Regions from separate parts of the Homo sapiens genome. Here region 2 is linked to region 1. Evidence: promoter capture Hi-C in human tissues and cell types (Jung and others, 2019). All regions are on one chromosome and are shown on one strand. The core of a region is centred on a gene start or on the middle of the fragment in contact, and the rest is flanking DNA. Distances in the headings are between cores, read along the strand shown.

Evidence for each region. Contacts are between HindIII fragments. The study calls those that stand out against the background at their distance.
Region 2: a contact is called between a fragment that was not itself captured here and the fragment with the promoter of HTR2B in region 1, in 1 of the 25 tissues and cell types used here (lymphoblastoid cells).

What each region holds. Positions count from the first base shown.
Region 1 is chr2:231,123,574-231,129,202 of GRCh38, forward strand. HTR2B (5-hydroxytryptamine receptor 2B) reads right to left here and starts at 1,469. Exons shown (of 4, transcript NM_000867.5): 1 at 1,399-1,469; 2 at 1-557. The coding sequence starts at 191. All of the region lies in intron 16 of PSMD1 (proteasome 26S subunit, non-ATPase 1), which reads left to right. The HindIII fragment of the contact is 13,649 bases long and covers 1-4,642 here.
Region 2 is chr2:229,845,759-229,851,636 of GRCh38, forward strand. All of the region lies in intron 4 of TRIP12 (thyroid hormone receptor interactor 12), which reads right to left. Among named protein-coding and RNA genes, the nearest start is that of TRIP12, 73 kb to the right of the region's middle. RefSeq lists enhancers at 4,398-5,077, 5,078-5,756. The HindIII fragment of the contact is 4,381 bases long and covers 2,066-5,878 here.

The sequences.
Region 1 (5,629 bases), core at 219-2,718:
ACCATGAGTATCAGAAGAGCTGCCCAGTGCAGTTTATTTCCCTGTTCCTCAACAATCTGTTTCATTTCCTCTGGTATTGATTCTGTCTGTAATCCAGACCAGTTAGAAGAGATAACGTGAACAAAGGTGCTCTGCAAAATGTGCTCAGGAATTGTGCTTTGAAGTTCAGACACTCTGTAAGAGAGAGCCATTTGCTGTTTTTCTGTGATTCAATCCCGTTCCGAACAGTGGTCAGCATGGTTAGTAGCTAAGCTGCTCATCTGTTTTTTTAAGGCATTGTAACCATGCCAAACACTCAAAAGCCAAAGTTGACACCTTCCTTTAAAAAAAAAAATTCAAGTTCTCTAAAATGAGCGCATACACACATCTGTCCATGTTTGTAGGTAAGATATCCAAGTATTTATTATTTTCTAGAGGCTTAAATTTAGGAAAGCTCAGTGAAAGAAACTGATAGCTGTGAAAAAAATAGGATATATATATATTTTTAGTTTCTCTCTCTCTCTTTTTCTGCCGTAGTTGTAGAGTCGTGTTTGAACTTGCATGCCAGAGAGTTCCCCCTAGATACAAAATACATAGACTGCATTATTTTATTCATTTCTGAAAGTGGTAAAAACACTTGAACTTCATAGCCCTTCCCTTCTTAGTAAGTCTGTTGTGCATTTGTGACAATGCAGCCAATTCTCCAAATATACTGTATTTCTGATGTTGCTCAGTTAATGAAACAGAAGACACATTAATTTTTTCAATGGTTATAATAAAAAGTTAGGTGTTTCCTGACCCTTGAATGTCTTTTTACCTTTACTTACAGAAGAATAGAAAAGTCGAAACACAATAGTTCAGAATAGAACTTTTAGTATGCGCTGGCCACCCACCTAGAAACACTCAAAGCCCAACAAGGGTCTAAATAAATGTTTTACCAGCTAGGGATCCTTATATGTAATTAGCTTTGTCTTATCAGGTTTGTGAGTACTGATATAAATGTCATTTTAGATTTCCTTTAGTTTGAGAGAAGGAAAAAAAAAGGTATTACTAGGATCCAAATAATTGTGTTTAGTAATTTCATCTCTCATGGTATGTCTTTGCAACAATTGTGTTCTAAATTTAATCACTAAATTTGCCAAATTCAAACCAGTTCTTTTTTTGTTTTAAGTAGTGTTTATTTTTTTAACCTTCCCAGTTGCCTTGAGAAGAAAGGGAAACCAAAAGGAAGATTAGACCATTTATTTGTTCATCAAATGTACAAATCACGTTTTTAAAAACTCTCCTTTAGCATTAGTAAATTTTTCATTTTGATTTTTAAACCGCTGAATAGAAATGAAAGATTATGATAGCAGAATTCTTGAAGATTAAAAAAAAAAACCTTTAGATTAATTCCATATGTGTTTATTAAATGCTTACCTCTGGTTTCGTTGTTATTTTGCTGAGCATGTCATCTTATCTGTTCACTAGACTTGCTTGCTGCTGTGACTGAAATCCTCCTCCCATTGACTTATTCTGAGCCTCCAGCACAGGCGGTTGAAAGCAGTGAAACAAATACGTTGTATAGCTGCAAGCATGCCAAGGAGGTTATTTCCTCTTTGATACATTCATTTTTAGAGAGTAGCAGCATTCATTGTAATTCATAAAACCACTGTTAAGCATGTTGAACCAGTTCATGGCCCTTATTCAAGTTATATTTTTAAGAGCTCTCTTTAATATTTGGGGGGACTGTAATAAACTTGATCATTTTAGCTTCAGATAGTTTTGTTTGGGGTTAAGCCTGAGCTGTTTTTCACATTTGAGAAAAAATAAGATATAATCTAGCTATTTTAGAGGTTTCATTCTTTGAAGATTCTGCCGTTTTAAAAGCCTATAGTGATTTCTACAGTTCTGATTTCTAGCAGTGAAACAAGATTCTTATCTAGCTTTTGTGCCTTTGCTGTGGAACACCATTAATTTGCTCTGGTTGCAACCTTATATAGAAGAGCACAGAAAGGCCTGAATTCTACATGTATACATAGGTTTTAGCAGAAACTTTTTTACTGCTTATTTTTAAACAGATGATCTCTGGGTTTAGGAGTGGTTCACAGCTTTTTTTCCCCATAGACTTTACGTTGGAGAAAATACAAGTAATGAAAATACGTTTTTGCCTTATTTCAGAAAATTGGTGTTTAAATCTTAATAGTTATGCTATTTAAGTTTTCTGTAACCATAAGACTAGCTTAGTATTAGAACCTCAGCATTCTCAAGGTTTCCTTTTAAAAGATCATTATAGATGCATATTTTAAAATTAATTACTTATAAATCAGTGATGACATTTGTGCCCTTTTCTTGTTTCAAATTTGTATTCCTTTGCTCATGTTGAATGTTATTGGAAAATACTTAGTTCATTTTAGCTCTGCTGAGCACTTCAGATTTTATTCAGTATTTGCTGCTTTTTTAAAAACTCAAAATTTACTATATTAGAAAAAATACTTGTGAAGAATTCTAGATGAAATAATATTCAAGAGAAATCAGATGTTTTTTAATGTACCAGAATTTCTATTCAGGAATATGAAAATATTTTAAGGCAAGGTGCGGTGGCTCATTCCTGTAATTCCAGCACTTTGGTAGACCAAGACAGGTGGATTGCTTGAGTCTAGAAGAGACCAGCTTGGGCAACATGGCAAAACCCCATCTCTACAAAAAAAACCACATAAATTAGCCAAGGGTGGTGGTTCACACCCGTAGTCCCAGCTACTGGGCGGCGGCGGAGGGGTTGAGGGTTAGGGGTCAGGGGAGACCTGAGGCAGGAGGATTGCATGAACCTGGGGGAGGTCGAGGCTGCAGTGAGCTGAGATCACACCACTGCGCTCCAGCTTGGGGTGACAGAATGAGATCTTGTCTCCAAGATTAAAAAAAAAAGAGGAAAAGAAATTATTTTTAAATACTGCTTAGTTGTGAGTTACACTTTGACATCTGTGCTTATGAAGGCAGGTAGGGATCTGCAAAACAAGTAATGTCAGATTGAAAATAGCAGCACCATTTTATATCCAGTGAAAAGACTTGTATGAAATAAGCCTTTATTGATTTGTTTATAGATAAAATTTTTTAAATATTAAGTATATTATAAAAATGCAGTCATTGTTGTATTTTGCCTGTATTAATCCTTTCACTCACATTCACTCATTTTTTGCCTCAACTTATAAAAAGTAAGATTGGTACTCTGATTTTTTTTATTTTTGCTTTTTTAAGTCTGTTTAATGTCTAAGGAACGTAACTAGTTAGAACAGCTACTTATTTGGCAATCTCAAGTTATGGGAAGCATAGCTGAGAATCAAGAAAAAAGCAAAATAATAATAAATAAATAATTATATAAAAGGATAGTTGAGTCTCAGCAAATAACTAAACCTGTGCTCTAAAACCCTAAGCACTTTAAGTAGAAAGTAGCCTCTAAGTCCCCACTCCATATCTTTTTACTCTTTACACACATACACGCACACACACGCACAGACGTATACACACACACAAAACTTTGCCTCTCCCCCTTCTTTAGTGAAAATAACATTTGTACATGGTGGTAGATGTAGATAGTACAAAAGAATGTTGAGTGATAAATTCATGTGAGACAATTTTAATAAACATGTTTCCCTGCCTACTCCAGATTTGAGTAACAAGTTAAAAGGTGGACAAGCACTTTGATAATAGCAAATAGGGTCAACTGAAACAGCAACAACAACAACAAAAAAAAAAAAAACAAGAATTTAAATGTATAAACATGTAGGTCTACTCAAAGTAGAGACTTGTACCTTTTTTTGTGTTTGTTTTTGTTTTGTTTTTTGAGACAGAGCCTTCCTCTGTCACCCAGGCTGGAGTGCAGTGGCACAATCTCAGCTCACTGCAACCTCTGCCTCCCAGGTTCAAGCAATTCTCCTGTCTCAGCCTCCCAAGTAGCTGGGATTACAGGCGCCTGCCACCACGCCTGGCTAATTTTTGTATTTTTAGCAGAGACGGGGTTTCGCCATGTTGACCAGGATGGTCTCGAACTCTTGACCTCAAGTGATCGCCTGCCTCAGCCTCCCAAAGTGCTGGGATTACGGGCATGAGCCACCGCACCCCACGCCCTTTGACAACATTTTATGTGGCATAATGATGGATAGCACAGTGATGACTTCTGTGTACTTAAGAAAAGGCTAGATCATGTTCATTCAGCAAATAAATGTGAAATGAATTTATTAAATATTTCTATGCAAATAATAAGAAATATAAAAGTATGATTCTTAATGGTAGAGTGAAGTTTTTAATATCTGGAAGCTTCATTTGTGTAGAATATTTCCTTTCCCAAAAGCTTCAGATAAAGTAACTCTTACTAAAGTAACTTCAAGGTCAGACTCAGCCTCTAATCCAGTAATAACCAAAAAAACCTAATTGGCACATTTTTTTCTAAGACAATTGAATTTTCTCCCTGATGTCTTTTTAATTTATTGAGCAGATTCTGTCTTTGACCGAAAAGGGCAGTCTAATATTCTTTATAGGTCTAGGAAGACAGCTTAAATATCAGCCAAGAACACTTTTTTACCTCTCAGTCATAATACCTATTAAACAGTAACCATAAAGGAATGTTTAACATGACAGGGATTGTATCTGCTACATATTCATTTGTGAAGTATTTACTAAGTGCCATATGCTCATGGAGATATATTAATGAATAAGGTAAACATTTTCTGTCCTCATGTAATTTATAATTTTATGGAGGATGCAAACAAGTATATTGGTAACTATAGTACAGATAAGGTAGAACTAAGACTAGCTCACTTCAACAGGACCTACAGTGGAGTTCAAATATTTCTCAGCTTTCTTTTTATTCATTCCTCTCATGTTCATTCTCTTTGACAAGATCAGTGAAAGAGCTGAAACTATAAGAATAGCTATTTCAAACTTAATCTGTTCTCGTTAGACTCCTTCATTCTCTTCTGACTGCCTGTTATTTTAACGAAAGACTTTGACAAATCAAAAACAAGCTTCCTTCACTGTCTTCTCAAAATGTCTTTCTTTTCATCCATCCTATCCTTCTTTGGGATCATGTTATCATTCCTTTCCACAATTGACTTCTACTTAGGTTCTTGATCCCATCTCATATGTATATGAAGTCTGTGTTGCTTCCTCTGGCATTAACAGCCTATACCAGGAGTGTGATAGGCTGCCATCTCTACTGTCACAGCTAGTCTAGGAGTGGGGGTGTGGTAGGCAGACAGTTTAAGATGCCACAGTGCTGTCTTACCACAATACAGCACCTTCTTCTTTAAGCCCTCCCCAGGTTAAGTTTTTTACTGGATTCCTGTGTAAAAGTTGATCTAGACAATTTTTGCCAGGTTATTGCCAGAACAAAAGAATAAGATTTTTTTTTGTCATCGAAACTCTAGAGTACAACCTGATGTCATAAAATGGTGTTGTCCTTTAATCAAAAGACTGCTATACCTGGAATTATAGTTGATGATCATAACCCAAATATCTTTTGGAGTAGATATGCTCAACTCTGCATGTCCTCAGTAATCACAGTAATCAGCTATTAGAAATAGACTTTTATCATTAGAATACTTGTTTAAATATCAGAAGTGATTAAAACTTTTTGAGAATCAAAGTACATTTATGTTGATTACTATAAAAATCA
Region 2 (5,878 bases), core at 3,006-5,505, 1.3 Mb before region 1:
CTCACATCTGTAAGCCCAGCAGTTCAGAATGCAGAGGCAGGAGGATTGCTGGAGGCCAGGAGTTTGAGACCAGCCTGGGCAACATAGTTTCTACAAAAAATTACGAAGAAAAAAAAAAATTAGCTGGGTGCGGTGACACAAGCCTGTAGTCCCAGATGCTCAGAAAGCTGAGGAAGGAGGATTACTTGAGCAGTGAGCTATGATCACACCACTGCGTTCCAGCCTGGGTGACAGATCGAGAGCCTCTCTTTTTTTCAAAAAAAAAAAAAAAAAGGTGGGGGGGGCAGGTAGTTTTTGTCTTGAGATGGAATTTATTCATGGAAAGATGCTGTAGACATCACTGAAATGACAAGAAAGGATTTAAAATATACATAAACTTAGTGATAAAGCAGCAGCAGCAGGGTTGGAAAAAAATTGACTCCAATTCTCAAAGAAGTTCTACTATAGATAAAATGCTATCAAACAGCATCGCATGCTATATTGAAATCTTTCGTGGAAGCAAAAGTCAATCAACGCTGCAAACTTTATCGTTTTGAAACTTCCACAATCACACCAACCTTCAGCAACCACCACCCTGATCAGTCAACATCTATCAACACTGAGGCAAGATCATCCACCAGCAAAAAGATTATGACTTGCTAAGGCTCAGATGATCATTAGCAATTTTTAGCAATAAAATATTTTTAACTAAGCCATGTACATTGTTTTTTTAGACACAATGCTATTTATTGCATGCTTACTAGATTACAGTATAGTGTAAGTACAACTTTTATGTGCACTGGGAAACAAAAAAATTCATGGAACTCACTTTACTGTGATTTTAATTTTCTTGTGGTGGCTGGGAACTGAGTGCATTAACATCTCCAAGGTATGCCCGTGTAACTATATTAATGGTTACTTTGGTAAAAATAAATTTAAAAAAATGAAAAGTAATCTATGAGGTTATAAAAAGGAATCACAGACTTTTATTTTAAAATAACTCAGTAATAATAAGACAGATTTTGCAGATAATGAGCTAAATCCCAAATGCAATTTTTAAAGCAAATTTTTATTTCCTAGTCAATGCACAGCATTTCATGCACTGATTTGTCAATATGAATTACAAATATTGGAAATGTCCAAAGGTATTCATCTAAGCAGTATTTATAATGAGGAGAAACTAGAAAGGAGCTAGATGCCCAATAACAGGGAATAGTTAAATAAAACAGTATGGTAATTAAAGTTGCAAGAAAACAGTTATTATTTAATAAGGATTTGAACATGTTGGCACTTTTACACAGCTGGTGGGAATTCATGTATTTCTAAGTGCAGTTTCAAAATATATGTCAATATCTAAAAAGAATATAACCAGTGACTTAACAAGGAAAGAGTGGTGTAAATTACAAAGCTATACTTAATTAGGGTACATCCATATCTAGCCATTACGAATGATGTAATTTATAGTTATTTGAAAGGAAACCACTCTATTACAAAGTGTTTAGACAAATAATGCACTTTTGTTTCTCCACAACTATTACCTTGCTCTGTCATTCTGAAGATGAAATTTAACGGACATCAAATGTCTATTTCAGAGCCTGGCCACATAACAGGCACTCAAAAAGTAATGCCCACTGTCATGTACAGCGAGATCATACTTTTGCATATGCCTAGCGAAGTGTCTCCCTTCTGGGTAAAGACAGAAGACTTAACACACATGCACTCACTTCTGTCTCCACATGAAATGCCACTAATACAGCATTAAAACAATCTGAGACATAAATCTACAAGGATGAGAAGAATGGAAGACACTATTGTTACAATACAATTTTAGGAGATGAAAACCAGAAATGCCGGGGCTAAATGCACTGGGAAGTCCAGAAAGCTGAAAGTAGAAAGCTGAGATTAACTACCAATCAAACTGACACCAGAGAAACCCAAAAAGGCTCAGGATCTGATGATGCCAGATACCTCTAGGGCAGTGTTGGGATTAAAACTGAAGATTGGCTGATAGGCTGTTTACAAGGCATCAGATCCTCAGATCCTCTCCCACACTTGTACAGCTGGGTAACCATTCCTCTCCTGGTTCCAGCAAAAAACAAGACCTTTATTCTTTAGGAAGTATAGAATATAGAAATTCCTGACTAAAGTACACAGTACAAATAGGTTCACTACACCAAAAATAAGAGGGAGAGAAGGGAATCGAGTACAGACATACTGTCTGACAATATACATTATCCTGCCTCCATCTGTGGCCTCTTCTCCCACTTGGCCCCCAGAACTCAGGCACTTAGGGCTTCACCTTGAGGCAGAAGTTTGAAACAATCTTCTCTGTGGAATTTTACCAGCTAAAGAAAAAAAGATCTAAAAATAATGATAAGAGGAAGTTTACAACAAAATGACCCAACCAGATCACTAAACAATGAATCTCGGTCAAACCTCCCTTATGTACTCAGAGCTTATAAATTAGACTTTTGGTCTTGAATTACACTTGAGTATGAGGAGACAACCAGGAATTACCAGAATTACCAGAATATGAGGAAAGTTCCTAACATGAAAGACAAAACCAATCCAAAATGCAGGCCCCCCCCGCCCCCCCCACACACACAAATACTTGAGATTACACAGGCAAAGAAAACTCACCATTAATGTCATCAAAAAAGAAATGCAACCATAAACCAAACGCATGATTCTATAAACAAGAAAATGAAAACAAAATCACCTCTTGGAAATAAAACATGGCAAACATGGGGGAAAAAAAGCATTTCAAGAGAAAAGTTGGAAGATGTAGAAATCTACCAGAAACAGAACGAAAAAGGAAAGCAATGTCAAACAGTAAGATCAAGACCATTTAAGAGGACAAGCACTCAATAGAAAATCAAGAAAGAGAAAACAAACAAGTACACGGTGACCAACAGTCCCAGTTTGCCTAGGACTATGCTGGTTTTAGAGCTGTAAGTCCTGAGTCTTCAGAATGCCCCAGATCCAGAGAAAGCAAAACCAGTTGGTCACCCTATCAAGGAATAAATCAGAACTAGGAATGGTGCCAGTATTGAAAGACAGAATACACTATATAATTCTTGAAAATTCTGAAGGAAAGTAATTCCCAACCCAGAACTCTATATTCACCAATCTGGCAAATAAATATCAGGGTGGTATAACATTTTCAGACATCTAAATTTTGAAAAAATAAATTGTAAATTATTAAAATCTCATACTTTTCCTTAGAGTCAAGAAGAAATATTCCACCAAAACAAGAAACCAAGATGACATGAAATCTAGAAAAGGGAAACTAAGAAGACTGAAGAAAATCCCAAGGCTGAAGCCGTATAACCAGGCATAATGAACAACCATCCAGAGGCCTCATTTCTTCAAGATGAAACAAATGCATGCAGACAGCTTGAGAAAAGATTGTGACAATTAGTAAGGAATGTGGAGTTTGAGTAAGTTCATGGGAAAGTAAGGAAAACAACAACAAAAAGGAATTTAAAATTCAGGAAAAGCAAAAATGTGTGAGAAAGGAAATGTTCCTTTACGTGGCTCAGTGTAAATAACATTTAGATGTTCACGATACAATAAACCCTGCGTGCTGATCATCACTGGGAAGACAGGAAGTATGTAACAGTATGTGTTTGGTAGGTGAATGGGGTGGGGTAAGGTTAGAATGCAAAATCTTCATTTTCCCTAAGGGGAACACAACAGGGATCAAACACTTGGGGGTGGGGGAGAAGAATCAACAAAGGGACATATAAAAGCACATAATCTAGACACTGAAACTTCAAAATAATCAGCCACAGAAAAGGGCAAAGTGGCAGAAAGACTGCTTTAAAAAAAAATAATAGATCTGGCCAGGCATAGTGGCTCATGCCTATAATCCAAGCACTTTCGGAGGCCTAGATAGGAGGATCGCTTGAGTCCAGGAGTTTGAGACGAACCTAGGCAACATAGTGAGACCTCATCTCTACAAAAAAAAAATCTTTCTAAAAAAATTAGCTGGGTATGGTGGCATGTGCCTGTGGTCCCAGCTACCCGGGATGCTGAGGTGGGAACACTGTTTGAATCTTTTGAGATCAAGGCTGCAGTAAGCTATGATTATCTTCTTGAAGAAGAAGAAAAAAAAGGTCTTATATAACTCTTTCACTTAACACTGCACATAAGTGTTGATAAATATAAAGTGAAAATTTTTGGCATAATACACACCAAAAAAAAAAAAAGAGGTAGCCCTTGGTGAATGAAATTAAAAGTGATTTTGTATTTTTCTTCTTTGTATATTTTGGTACTTTCTGGATTACTTTTAACAAACATATATCAGAATCAGAAGTGTCAAAACCATTCCAGAATACACGTAAGAATATAAAGGGCAATTACTAATGTAAATTGAGTAAAACATAATTTGGCTAATTTAATTCTTATTTTGACCTTGCATACAAAACAATATATAACATGGCCATTTATAATTTCCAAACAATGTAATACAAAGCAAAGCCTTGTTAACAAAGAAGTCAATGCTGTATTTACAATTAAATGATCTCTTTTTTAAATTTGGCCACTTCTGTTTAAAGTTTTTTTAAAGCCTCAAAAACACTAGGATTATTTGTTAGTAATTTTTCAAAGCGGTCACATATTGGAACTTCTAAACTTTTAAGTTGCTAAATTACTTTAATAGCTGCCTTGTAATATAGAAAACTGACACTCAACCCATTTCCTTTTAAGCTCCCTGCCCAACTCTTCACAGAGCTCACAGATTATCTACCTTTTTCACGCAAGTAGAGATGATCCTGCAAGATGCAAGTTGGTGAAACTGAAAGGTGACAGCGTGTGGCAGTCCTCACAGCCCTCGCTCGCTCTCGGCGCCTCCTCTGCCTGGCCTCCAACTTTGGCGGCACCTGAGGAGCCCTTCAGCCCACCGCTGCAATGTGGGAGCCCCTTTCTGGGCTGGCCAAGGCCAGAGCCCACTCCCTCAGCTTGCAGGGAGGTGTGGAGGGAGAGGCGCGAGTGGGAACGGGGGCTGCACCCGGCGCTTGCGGGCCAGCTGGAGTTCCGGGTGGGTGTGGGCTTGGCGGGCCCCACACTCGGAGGAGCAGCCGGCCCTGCCGGCCCCAGGCAATGAGGGGCTCAGCACCCGGGCCAGCGGCTGCGGAGAGTGTACTGGGTCCCCCAGCAGTGCCAGACCACCGGCGCTGCACTCGATTTCTCGCCGGGCCTTAGCTGCCTTCCCGCAGCGCAGGCCTCGGGAGAGCAGCCCACCATGGCTGAGCCTTCCCCCACCTCCGTGGGCTCCTGTGCAGCCCAAGCCTCCCCGACGAGCGCCGCCCCCTGCTCCAGGGCACCCAGTACCATCGATCACCCAAGGGCTGAGGAGTCCGAGCACATGGCGCGGGACCGGCAGGCAGCTCCACGTGCAGCCCCGGTGCAGGATCCACTGGGTGAAGCCAGCTAGGCTCCTGAGTCTGGTGGGGACGTGGAGAACCTTTATGTCTAGCTCAGGGATTGTAAATCGGCACTCTGTATCTAGCTCAAGGTTTGTAAACACACCAATCCGCACCCTGTGTCTAGCTCAGGGTTTGTGAATGCACCAATCGACACTCTCTAGCTACTCTGGTGGAGCCTTGGAGAACCTTTGTGTCAACACTCTGTATCTAGCTAATCTGGTGGGGACATGGAGAACCTTTAGTGTCTAGCTCAGGGATTGTAAATGCACCAATTAGCACCCTCTCAAAACAGACCACTCGGCTCTACCAATCAGCAGGATGTGGGTGGGGCCAGATAAGAGAATAAAAGCAGGCTGCCCGAGCCAGCAGTGGCAACCCGCTCGGGTCCCCTTCCACACTGGAAGCTTTGTTCTTTCACTCTTTGCAATAAATCTTGCTACTGCTCACTCTTTGGGTCCACACTGCTTTTA